Regions from separate parts of the Homo sapiens genome. Here regions 2 and 3 are each linked to region 1. Evidence: promoter capture Hi-C in 16 types of primary human blood cells and fetal thymus (Javierre and others, 2016). All regions are on one chromosome and are shown on one strand. Each heading gives the region's core, a stretch centred on a gene start or on the middle of the fragment in contact. The rest is flanking DNA. Distances are from core to core; before and after follow the strand shown.

Region 1 (3,568 bases), core at 275-2,774:
TTTATAGAGTAGAAATAAAATGGAACAGTCAATGATATTAGCCTCACATACTATGTTTCTAAAATTTTCCAAGGTTTGGTTTTTATATTTTTTCAGCTTTAAAAATACATGGTCATTGTTAAAACTTGGGGTAATTTCAATAACAATTCAAAGAATTAAATAAAATTTGCCCATATTTCCACCACCCACAGATAATTATCATTAATCTTGGAGTGTGCTTTAATTAATAGACTATTTTTAGAGCAGTTTTAGGTTTAGAAAACAGGAATGGAAAGTACACGGAGTTCTGATGTACTCCCTCACGCCCCTCCCTCCACACACAGCTGCTTGTACTGACATCTTACATTCGAGTGGCACATGTGTTATGATTGATGGGCCCATGTTGTTACATTAAGATGAACTAAGTCCATTACTTACAGGAGGCTCACGCCGCATGCTGTTCATTCTGTGAGTTTTGAGAAATGCATAATGACATGAAGCCACCATTATAATGTCATACAGAGTTTTTTCAATATTTTAAAAAACATACATAAAATTAATTTTCACTTTTCATTGGGTAATATAATTTTTGTTTTTTATTTTACAGATTGTGGGTATTGTTCTTTGATTATAAAAGACAATAGACATTTATAAATAATAGTGCTGGCCACTAAATGAATCATCTAAAAAACTACACTGGTAGAAAGCATGCATTTATTTTATGAATTCCATTAGCTGCCTATCAGGGAACATGGAGCACTGGGGCACAGATCCCAGCACAGAAGGGTTTGCTTCTCTTCTGTGGTTTTCATGTCAATTAATGATTAGGCCTTGAGCCTCACAAGAAAGGTGATAGGCCTTTGAGTCGGTTTACTGCAACAGTCTACTCAAGACTTGCCCCAGGCCCTGGGAAACATGTAGGTTTAAAAATCCCTACCCTGCGTTTTCCTTTCACAGGGAGTGAACTTCTGGCCCAGGCAGTGGGCAGTGGGGCACGGTTGCCCCGGAGATGAGACTCCTCTTCCCGCCCTGGGGGGTGGGGGCTGGCTGGTGGCTGAGGGAACTATTTTTGTTTGTTTCTTTTTTTAAAAAACGGAGTCTGGCTGTGTCCTCCAGGTTGGAGTGCAGTGGCGCGATCTCGGCACACTGCAACCTCCGCCTCTCGGGTTCAAGTGATTCTCCTGCCTTAGCCTCCTGAGTAGCTGGGATCACAGGCGCCTGTCACCACGCCCGGTTAATTTTTATTTTTATTAGAGACGGGGTTTCACCATGTTGGCCAAGCTGCTCTCAAATTCCTGACCTCAGGTGATCCGCCCACCTCGGCCTCCAAAAGTGCTAGGATTACAGGCAAGAGCCACTGCGCCTGGCCGGGGAACTGTTTTTGATGGGTGGGGTCCCCGGCTGTGGTTGGTAGTGTGGGGGCGTGGCCGAGGGTGTGGCCTGAGGGAGTGAGCTAACCGGGGGCGTGGCCTGATATGGGGCGGGGGGAAGAGCCGGGCTGGGGGCGTGGCCTGGTGGGGAGCGGGGCTGGGGCGTGGCTTGGCTGAGTGTGCTGCCGCGGCGCGGGAGGAGAGTGTGCGTTGCGCTTTCTCCCGCGATCGCCCTGCCGGTCGCTAGCTCCGAGGGCGCGCACTGGATCCCAGGCTCCTCCGAGAGTGCGGCGACCTCGGGGCTCCGCCGGCACCGGAGGTGGCTCTGAGGGCAGGGACGTGTTGGACACGCTGACTTTGTAGGCTCCGCCAAGAGGCGCCGCAGGAGGTAAGACGGCTTCGGGCGCGCGGCTCTGCCGGGCGGGCGCGGGCATGGGCTGTTAGGTAGAATATCGGGAGGATTTGAGTCCCAGTGGACTGCCTCGGGGCTTCGGGATGTCCAGCTCCCAGCTGCTTGGCCTCTGCTTCCCCCGCCGGTGGAGGCTACCGGGTGCTCACCTGTTAGGTCCGTGCGCCCGCTCCCTGCCCGGCGGTGGCTCTGCGCCCTCTGGGCCACCCGGCACCATCGCTTTTGGGAGGACATGCACGTGGTGTTCTCGCAAAAGGCCGTTTCCAGCCGGAAGCCTGCAGGGAGGTCGCCTTGTAACTTCACCCGCGCTCCCAGCTCGCGGGGCCTGGCCTACAGGGGCGGCCGTGGGGGTGGCAGAGTCTGGGGAGCCTGGCGCGGCGGAGCCCTGTAACGCTCTGCTCCATCGGGTGGCGTGGCTGGTGCCTCCGGGGACCCGGAGCGATGCGGTTGGAGAGCTTAGTTTAGAAAGCAAGTTTCTCTTGGTACCAGCGGAGTCTCGTCCCAGGGGAAAGATTTTGGGACCCGGTGCCCATCGTCTGTGGACTGCAGGGAATGCATTGGCGGAGTTGGTTTGGTCCCATTCTGTGCAGGAGGTGGGGGAATTGGTACTCCAGCCCCAGGCAGGTAGAAGCCCGCGCTGCTGCCAGCGTCAGGGGGAGCTCGGGTGACTTGGGCTGGGCCACCCATCTGACTGCAAGGTTACAGAGCTTGAGCAAATTTCCCCTCCCTCCAAGTGCAGGAAAACCAAACCAAAGCAAGCAAACAAAACCCTGTGGGTCATTTGCTTCCCAGCATTGCATAGGGATGTGGATAAATAGAATAATACTGTGAATTTATTCAGCTCTTGTTCCCATGGCTTCCCATAGCCTTATATTATGCACCTCCCCCTGCCAGCATTTTCTCTGTCCCCACCTTCGGTTTTTGCTGCCTCGTGTTTTCTTCTCTGTGAACCTTTCCTGGTCACCCAGCGATTTGCTCTCCTTTATTCCCCTTGCTAACAGGCGGAGAAATCTCACTCCTTTTCTTTTTCCACCTTTCCCAACAAATTCTCCTTTTTTCCTAATGTCCCCCTCCCCCGTCTTGCAAACTTCCTCACTGCATTATTCTCGGGGTGCCTGTCATGCACCCTCCCTGTTCTCTGCCCTCCTCCCGCACTTTAGAGTTTCATGTGGCTTTGTCTTATTATCCCATATCCTAATTCTCATCTACCTCCCTTGGCCCCCACGTTTGCCATCTGCCTCCACCCAGTTCTCCCATCTCCTTCCTTATTTGTGCTCCCGTGCATATGCAGGTTTCTTCCTTGTTTCCCCATGTTTCTCCCACAGGTGCTTTCTTCCCTTTGCCCTACTTCTCCCTGGCAGGCGCTCTGCCCAGCCACAGCCTGCCCCGCCTGGAGGGCACACCTTGCCTCAGTGCCTTCTGCTGCGGTTTTCCATGCTCCATCAGCATCCCTGGGTTCCTTGTGTTCTTCCAGTCCGCCCTCTGTCACCTTGCAGACGGCTTTCTCTCCGAATGTCTGCAAGTGTCAGAGGCGAGGAGTGGCAGCTGCATCTCTGCAGGAGGACTCTGGATTTCAGGACCCTCCCTTCTGCCACTGCTTCTGACTGATTGTTTTCTTATTGAAGTCGTATCCTCTACATAGTTCTAGAATTAATGTCAATATTGATGTTAGGTAGCATCTACCAAACTCTGGGTGTGTGCCAAGCACTGTTCTGAGGGCTTAACGTGCATCAGTACTCATTTAAAATCCTCCACACATCCCTATAATGTAGGATCTACTACTGTCCCCATTTGACAGATGAGAAAAGGA
Region 2 (3,568 bases), core at 444-2,943, 150 kb before region 1:
TGAGCCCCGTGGCTGCAGACAGTGGCATCTGTTTGGTTTATGCGTCTGCAGGTCGGGGCTTTCACGGGCTTGGGCTGGGCTCCCTCCTGTGGCTGGCACTCCCCAGCTGTGGCTGGGGACAGGGCACACCTAGGCCACAACTCTCCCTCATCCAGCAGGCCAGCCCGACACCTTCTCACCGTGACGGCAGAGTGGGGAGCAAGCAAAGCCACACTGTGTGAGCTTTCCAAGGGCCCATTGTCACCCCTTTGCTAATACCCCACTGGCTGCAGCCCATGTGGCTGAGCCCAGAGCCAGGGTGGGGGGTACATGGCAACCTGTGCAGACATGGAAAAACCTCAGCCTCCTCTTCTCCCACTGAAACGGGCTTAGAGCTCTTCCTGTCTCCCCACGCGTGCTGCACTGTTTCATGCTCTTTCTCCCAAGGAACTTCTCCTCAGCTCAGCTCCCGCTCTGTAAGTGGAACTCTGATTTCATCTGAGCACCCTGGCTTCCACAGCATTGCATGCCCACTGCCAGCCCGTTCCTCCCCTCCCTCACCCACTGGGCTGACGATCCTCTCCCACTTGCTGCTCAGTTTCCCTCCTGGTTTGTCCCAGCTCTGGGGCCCATGGGCAGCCCCCTCACCCTTGTGCCTTGCCCCCCATACCTGGGACACTGCTTGGGGACAGTGCCCAGGATTCTACCTACTCTGAGAATGGGGACAAGAAATCTACACACAAGCTTAAGTCGCCCTTATCCTAAAAAGGTACTTTTTTCCTGACCTTGTGAATTCTTCCAAGATCTTATTGATCTCTAATTTGCCTTTTGTGAGAAAATGTTTTGAAAGAGTAACCTACACCCATCGCTTTCATTCCTTACCACCCACTTGCTCCTTGTCCCTTACAGTCTTTTTTTTTTCCACTTTTTTTTTTTTTTTTGCCCCAGAAGACCAGGCTGTCAACAGTCTGCAGTGTTAGGAGTGCCACATGTGTTCATTTATTTTGTCCTCTAAAAACCTCGAAGGCTTGGGTGCTGCATACAGTCAATAGCCGTTTGACCCATGAGAAAATCAGAGCTCAGCCTGGTCATGTTGTTCATGAGGTTATTGGGAGCAGGTAATGGACTGTAGGCCTTTCTGACTGCAGAGCCTGTTTTAAGCTGTTGTGCTGTACTGACTCGATGTGCAAGTCTGGAGTGTGCTAGAGTCAGAGCCTCCAAACCCGTCACGCAAAGGGGCTGTATACGCTTGCTAGGGCTGCTGTGCCACAGTTGAGTGGCTTTGACAACAGAAATGGTTTGCCTCGCTGTCCTGGAGGCTGGAGGCCACAGGGTCAGCAGGGCCATGCTCCTTTTGCAGGTGCCAGGGAAGGTCGGGGCCCAGCCCTTCTCCCAGTTCTTGGTAGCTTAACTCCAGTCTCCACATTGCATTCTCCCTGTGTGCATGTCTGTGTCCAGAGTCTCCCTTTCCATTAGGACACAAGTCATATTGGATTAGGCTCTCACCCTAATGACCTCATCATAACTAAAGTTGACAACTCGGGGGCACCAACACACCCCCCTTCCCCCATGCAGAAATGGCCCCACTGTTTCTGGGGCCTTTCAAAACCTGCATGTAACCTTTGACTCCCCCAAAACTTAACTACTAATAGCCTGCTATTGACCAGAAGCCTTACCGATAATGTGTCAGTGGATGAACACATATTTTGCATGTTATATGTACTGTATACTGTAGTCTTACAATAAAGTAAGCTAGAGAAAATAATATTTGAAAATCATAAGAAAGAGAAAATATATTTATTCATTAAGTGCAAGTGGATCATCCAGGTAAAGGCCTTCATCCTGTGGTCTGTTAGTTTGTAACAAAATAGTGTATGTCTTCTCCTAAAATTTACTATTGTTATTTAACAACTTCCTTTAAAAGGAAGGTAAGTGGTTTAGTGAAACTGATGAGAGGAAACAAATCCTGATTTCAATTGTGAATTAAGGGTGTTATTCACACAAGTTATTTCAGTTCCTGTCTTCTCCCTTTTGGTTAAGATTTCCACAGGATTGCTGTAGTTCTGAGATCCAGGTTCCCTTTTTGGCACTTTCTGGATTTTTTTTTTTTTTTTTTTTTTTTTTTTTGAGACAGAGTCTCGCTGTGTCGCCCAGGCTGGAGTGCAGTGGCGCTATCTGGGCTCACTGCAAGCTCCACTTCCTGGGTTGATGCCATTCTCCTGCCTCAGCCTCCCAAGTAGCTGGGACTACAGGTACCCGCCACCACGCCTGGCTAATTTTTTTGTGTTTTTAGTAGATAACAGGGTTTCACCGTGTTAGGCAGGATGGTCTTGATTTCCTGACCTCATGATCTGCCTGCCTTGGCCTCCCAAAGTGCTGGGATTACAGATGTGAGCCACCGTGCCTGGCCACTGGATTTTTATAGTAAACAATGACCTCTGTGACTCTTAACGAGAGATGAATAGATACAAAAAGTCTTATAAGCAAAAACATCGCTGAAAGCCAGAGTTTACTGCAAAATAGACACATGACATTATTTAATTTTTTTCCCAAATAGAGAACCTAAGTAAAAGCCTTAGCAATTTACCTTTTGCTGAGAGGAACTAGCTGGACTGTACATTTTAAGAAAATCCTTTCTTCAAAGTACATGTGAGGAAAAACTAATTTCGGGGACAGCCCTGCTTCCAAGCTTGTTTCTCCTGTGGCATCCCCTCTCTGTTAGCAGTAATTTAATAAAAAACCTGAATATGACCCTGTTGTGAGCTGAGTCAGGCCTGACCCTGAGCCAGGGGCCACCTGGCCCCTCTGCTTCACTCTCACCATTGCCCACTCATGGGGCTTCTTTTCTGCTCATGGTTCATCCCAGAAGGTTTTTCCCTGCCATCCCCTAGAAGGTCAGACCAGCCAGGACACCCCCGGCCTTCCTGATCCTTCCCCTTTGGGGCGACCCCTGGCAGGCCCCCCCCCAATTCCTAGGTCCACCGTTTCTGGGGTCTTTCCAGCCAAACCATGCCAAGGTGAGCCTCGGCTGGTGACACGTCATAGTCCCCTCATGACCCCACCTAAATCAGCAAAATGAAGTTGTTGGTTCTTAGAAATAATTTAAAACACAGAGGCATTTCCTCAGGCAGTGGGATTTGAGCATCAAAGACACGCTTCTGTCCTTCGTCCTTCTGCCCTCGGATGTCGCGGCTCCTTGGCTCCACAGTGACTTGGAGGGTACGCGGTGTGTATGTGTTGGCTGCAATAGTGTGAGCCACAGTGACACGTGGCATGGTTCTGAGCTCCACAAGGAAAATGGCAGAGCCCCGTTCCAAGTCCCTGGCAGGACTCGGGACTCTGCGTATGTCTTTCTCAGACACCCCTGAGACCTGCCCGGAATTGTGTTTGTGGCTTGTCCTTCAACCCCACTCCTGGCTCCTCCTGTGAGGGGTGGAGGCCAGTGGGGTCCATCCCTGCCCACCCCTGGAGTGCTCCATCCTCCAGGACGTGGCCCTGGGCCCTCCAGGAAGCAGCTGCGGCTCTTCCTGAGGCTGGGAGAGCTGTTTCCCAGTAGCTACCATTTCCATTTGGATCCAGATGTGACATC
Region 3 (3,568 bases), core at 547-3,046, 130 kb before region 1:
TTTTTGAGTCCTCTCCCTCCTCCCACCCTCCACCCTCCGATAGGCCCCAGTGTGTGTTGTTCCCCTCTAGGTGTCTATATGTTCTCATCATTTAGCTCTCACTTATAAGTGAGAACATGCGGTATTTGGTTATCTCTTCCTAAGTTAGTTTGCTAAGGATAATGGCCTCCAGCTCCATCCATGTTCATGCAAAGGACATGATCTAATTCTTTTTTACGGCTGCATAGTATTCCATGGGAATTCATAGCAAAATTGAGTGGAAAGTAGAGTTCTCATATATGCCCTACCTTCTCCTAACACACACACACACACACGCACACACACACACACACACACACATACATACATACATACATATACCCTCCCCTATCATCCACATCCCCCACAGCGTGGTGCATTTGTTAGAGCTGATGAACCAACACTGACACATCATTGTCACCCAGAGTCCCTAGTTGACATTAGGGTTCACACTTGGTGTTGTACATTCACTGGTGTTAGACATAGGTGTAATGGCATGTGTTCACCATTATAGTATCAGATGGAAGAGTTTCACTGCTCTATAAACTCCTGTACTTCATATTTTATTTGGTAAAACTGAAAACCCTACCCATAGGAGACTTTCCTTAAGAGCCAAGACCAAGATAGGTCACTTTCCTGTCAATGGTTTCAGTAGGGTGCTTATGCTCTCCTTATTTGACATTTCTCTGAGGGCACAGCCTTGATGTGTCTTGTCTTCCTGTGGTGCTCTCTGGTTCTTCTTTTCCCTAATCTCCTGCCCACCCATGTTTCCATTAATATTAAAGCCCCAGCCCCAGAGCCTAGAGCTTTAGATGTCCCCAGCGCCCTAGAACTGGAAGATGCCCCAGGCTGTCTGAGTATTCAACAATCTCTTATTTCCCTGGATTTATCTTATGACTTCATTCCTGATTTCAGGGGAATTCTTTTATCTTGCTACTACAACCATACATGTTTAAGGGTTTTGTTCCTTTAAAAAAATATATTGACTCTAATATTCTTAGGTGTTCTGTAGTGGGAGGATTTTTAGAATCTCCAGTCTACCATATTGCCAGCAGTGGAAAAGACCTTTATGTAGGTAATCTCATTTAATCCTCACAGCCCAATGAAATGGATACTATTTTTCTAATTTTACAGAGAACCCTGAGATTTTAAAAGGTTAAATAATTTGCTTAAGTCCACAAAGTAACAACCAATCTTAGAATAATAATTGAATAACCGTTCAATTCTAGCTCTTCTAGTCTCCAAAGCCTATGTTTTCACCCAGTTTACCGCATTTTCTTCCATTTCTCAATATCTTCTCCCATTCAAAGTAGCAAATGGTTTTAAAGCTTATTTTAATTTATTTAGTTGTGGCTGATTTATTCATTGATTGATTGATACCATGCTTAGAACTGCTGCGGAGGGGAGGCCCTTTCATGGATGGCATGGATGCCAGCATTGGGACTGGCCTGTAGGTTAGGCAGGACCTCAGTCTGTGGCAGTTTCTTAGGGCATTTAGCACAGACCAAGGTCTGGTCCATAGCATAACTGGTTGGGAGACTCCCTTCCATTGGTTTCTTTGGATTTGATCTGACTCTAGCACACCAATTCATGCTAGCACATCTCCTAAGCCAGACTTCCAATGTATTAGTTCACAATGAGAGAGAGTCCTTTTCGGTAACTTGTGTCCACTTTCCCAGATCTTTCCAGATACCAAGACAATGGGGAAAACACATCTATGACTAGACATATGCTTGGCAGGAATTACTGCCAAGATTTAAGTAACTTAAAGAAATTAAATGGCCTTTGAGCCATGAAAAATCTGGTGAAATGAACATTTTTAATAACTGAGATTTCTACCACAGAATAGGTCAAACAATGAACATACATTGAGCTTATGTCAGGCACTGTAGATGCAAAAATAGCTAAGACCTCATATGACCTGCCCTTGGGGAATTTATAATCTTGGACCTTCTCTCTCCCTTAAACAATCCTCAGTCAACACTAGAAAATTATCTTTCTTATATCTACATCCAGCATTCTGCAGTTAATTTCAGAGCAGTGGATATCTACTCTGGACACCCTCTGGATTTCCAAGATATTCTGTGTACCATATTTACAAGCTATCACATTAGGTGAGTTCCTTCTTTGGGTCAAGGTTTTCCTTCATTTTTGGATAATTCTTCACCCACAGTTGTCCTCTGTGTTCTAAGTTCTGACAATGATTCTTTTGCTTGGCCAAACTTTAGTCAAGCTTCTGAATCTTCTGCTATGCCCATCTTGCAAAAATTCAGTTTTTGCAAGAACCCTGGTAAGTCAGTTTAGTAAGAACACCCATGCTTGGTGTCTGATTATCCTCCACCATCCCCCAGGTGACGTCTGATCACCCGGCTTCTCTTCAGCAAGAATTCTGGTAGGCTGGTTCAGCTACAACCCCACCTCACCCTGACGTTCCCTCTTAGTGATTTTCTGTCCACTGACTCCCACCCTGCTCCTTGGCTATAAATTCCCACTTGCCCATGCTGTATTCAACACTGAGCCTGCTCTCTCTCCCCTATGGCAATACCACATAGCAGTGGTCCCTATACCCATTGCAATGGTCCTGAATACATTCTTTCTCACTGTGATGTAACAAGTGTCATGGGAATATTTCTTCTTAAACAGTCCACATGGTATTATTCTTAACAACCACTCATATGGCATTAGGAATAAATGGAATGTTGTTGGAATCAGTTCAGCTCTGTCTCTGCCAGAGATTTCATAAGGAGTCGTTACAAATATGTTGGGTTTCCTTTATACTTGTTCACAGGGTAACTGACTGCAAGGAAAGGTTCCTTCCCTGTCGTTTCTGCAGTAATGGAGAGTATAGAAGATTTTGGTTGAAAATAAGGCATTAGAGTTTCAGAAACATGGGAAAATCCAGGGCACGAGCAGAATAACTTCAAAATAACTTTATATTTGAGAGTTAAGTTTGCCCTAAAATGTGACTGAACTTTTAAATATGAGTAAACCTAAATGTGCTCACTACATTGGGGTGGCCTTACCCTAGTGGCTTGCCAGAGTCCAAGGTCCAGTTTTTATTCTTACAGTTCAGTTTAGTTGAGTAAGTAGGTCTGAGACTTAATATTTGTTTTCTATTAATTGGTCACCAACACTGGGAATACTGGGGCGTTTGATAAAGTCCTGGCCAGGGAGAATGACTCATTTGTCTCACTCATTTTGGGTAGATTGGAAAGGTTTGTGTAATACAATACTTTTCATGGAGACAATAAAAATTCAGATTTTTTTCTAGATACATAAAGCATTAATTTAATTTTTTAAAAAGATCTGTCTCTCAGAGGCCTGCACTAAGTCCTTTGATGTTAGGTAGCAGGTGAAAGTCCCCAGACCTGCAAGGTTTGAGTATCATTTGAAAGCAAGACCACTTAGCTAAACTCCCACTCTGTGTGAAGCCACCAAATTGGACAGAACTGCTCAAAACATAGAATTTCAAAAATCTAATAAAAATGAAACGAAAGCAGTCAAGTATAGAAGAAAAAAAGCAATCAAGTCAAGAGGCAGGCATGGAGAG

The links. The method cuts DNA at HindIII sites, captures the fragments that hold promoters and counts their contacts. A CHiCAGO score of 5 or more calls a contact.
Region 2: a fragment that was not itself captured here is called in contact with the fragment with the promoter of SPATA13 in region 1 in 1 of 17 cell types (M2 macrophages); the score reaches 5.3 in M2 macrophages.
Region 3: a fragment that was not itself captured here is called in contact with the fragment with the promoter of SPATA13 in region 1 in 4 of 17 cell types (M2 macrophages, M1 macrophages, fetal thymus and 1 more); the score reaches 8.5 in M2 macrophages.

The regions. Positions count from the first base shown.
Region 1 is chr13:24,159,196-24,162,763 of GRCh38, forward strand. SPATA13 (spermatogenesis associated 13) reads left to right here and starts at 1,525. Exons shown (of 13, transcript NM_001166271.3): 1 at 1,525-1,737. MIR2276 (microRNA 2276) reads left to right here and starts at 3,221; the gene lies at 3,221-3,309. RefSeq lists a silencer at 1,416-1,475. The HindIII fragment of the contact is 10,500 bases long and covers 1-3,568 here.
Region 2 is chr13:24,012,803-24,016,370 of GRCh38, forward strand. It overlaps a transcript of SPATA13 not described here. Among named protein-coding and RNA genes, the nearest start is that of C1QTNF9B, 120 kb to the left of the region's middle. RefSeq lists an enhancer at 3,562-3,568. The HindIII fragment of the contact is 1,945 bases long and covers 722-2,666 here.
Region 3 is chr13:24,029,752-24,033,319 of GRCh38, forward strand. It overlaps a transcript of SPATA13 not described here. Among named protein-coding and RNA genes, the nearest start is that of SPATA13, 130 kb to the right of the region's middle. The HindIII fragment of the contact is 905 bases long and covers 1,345-2,249 here.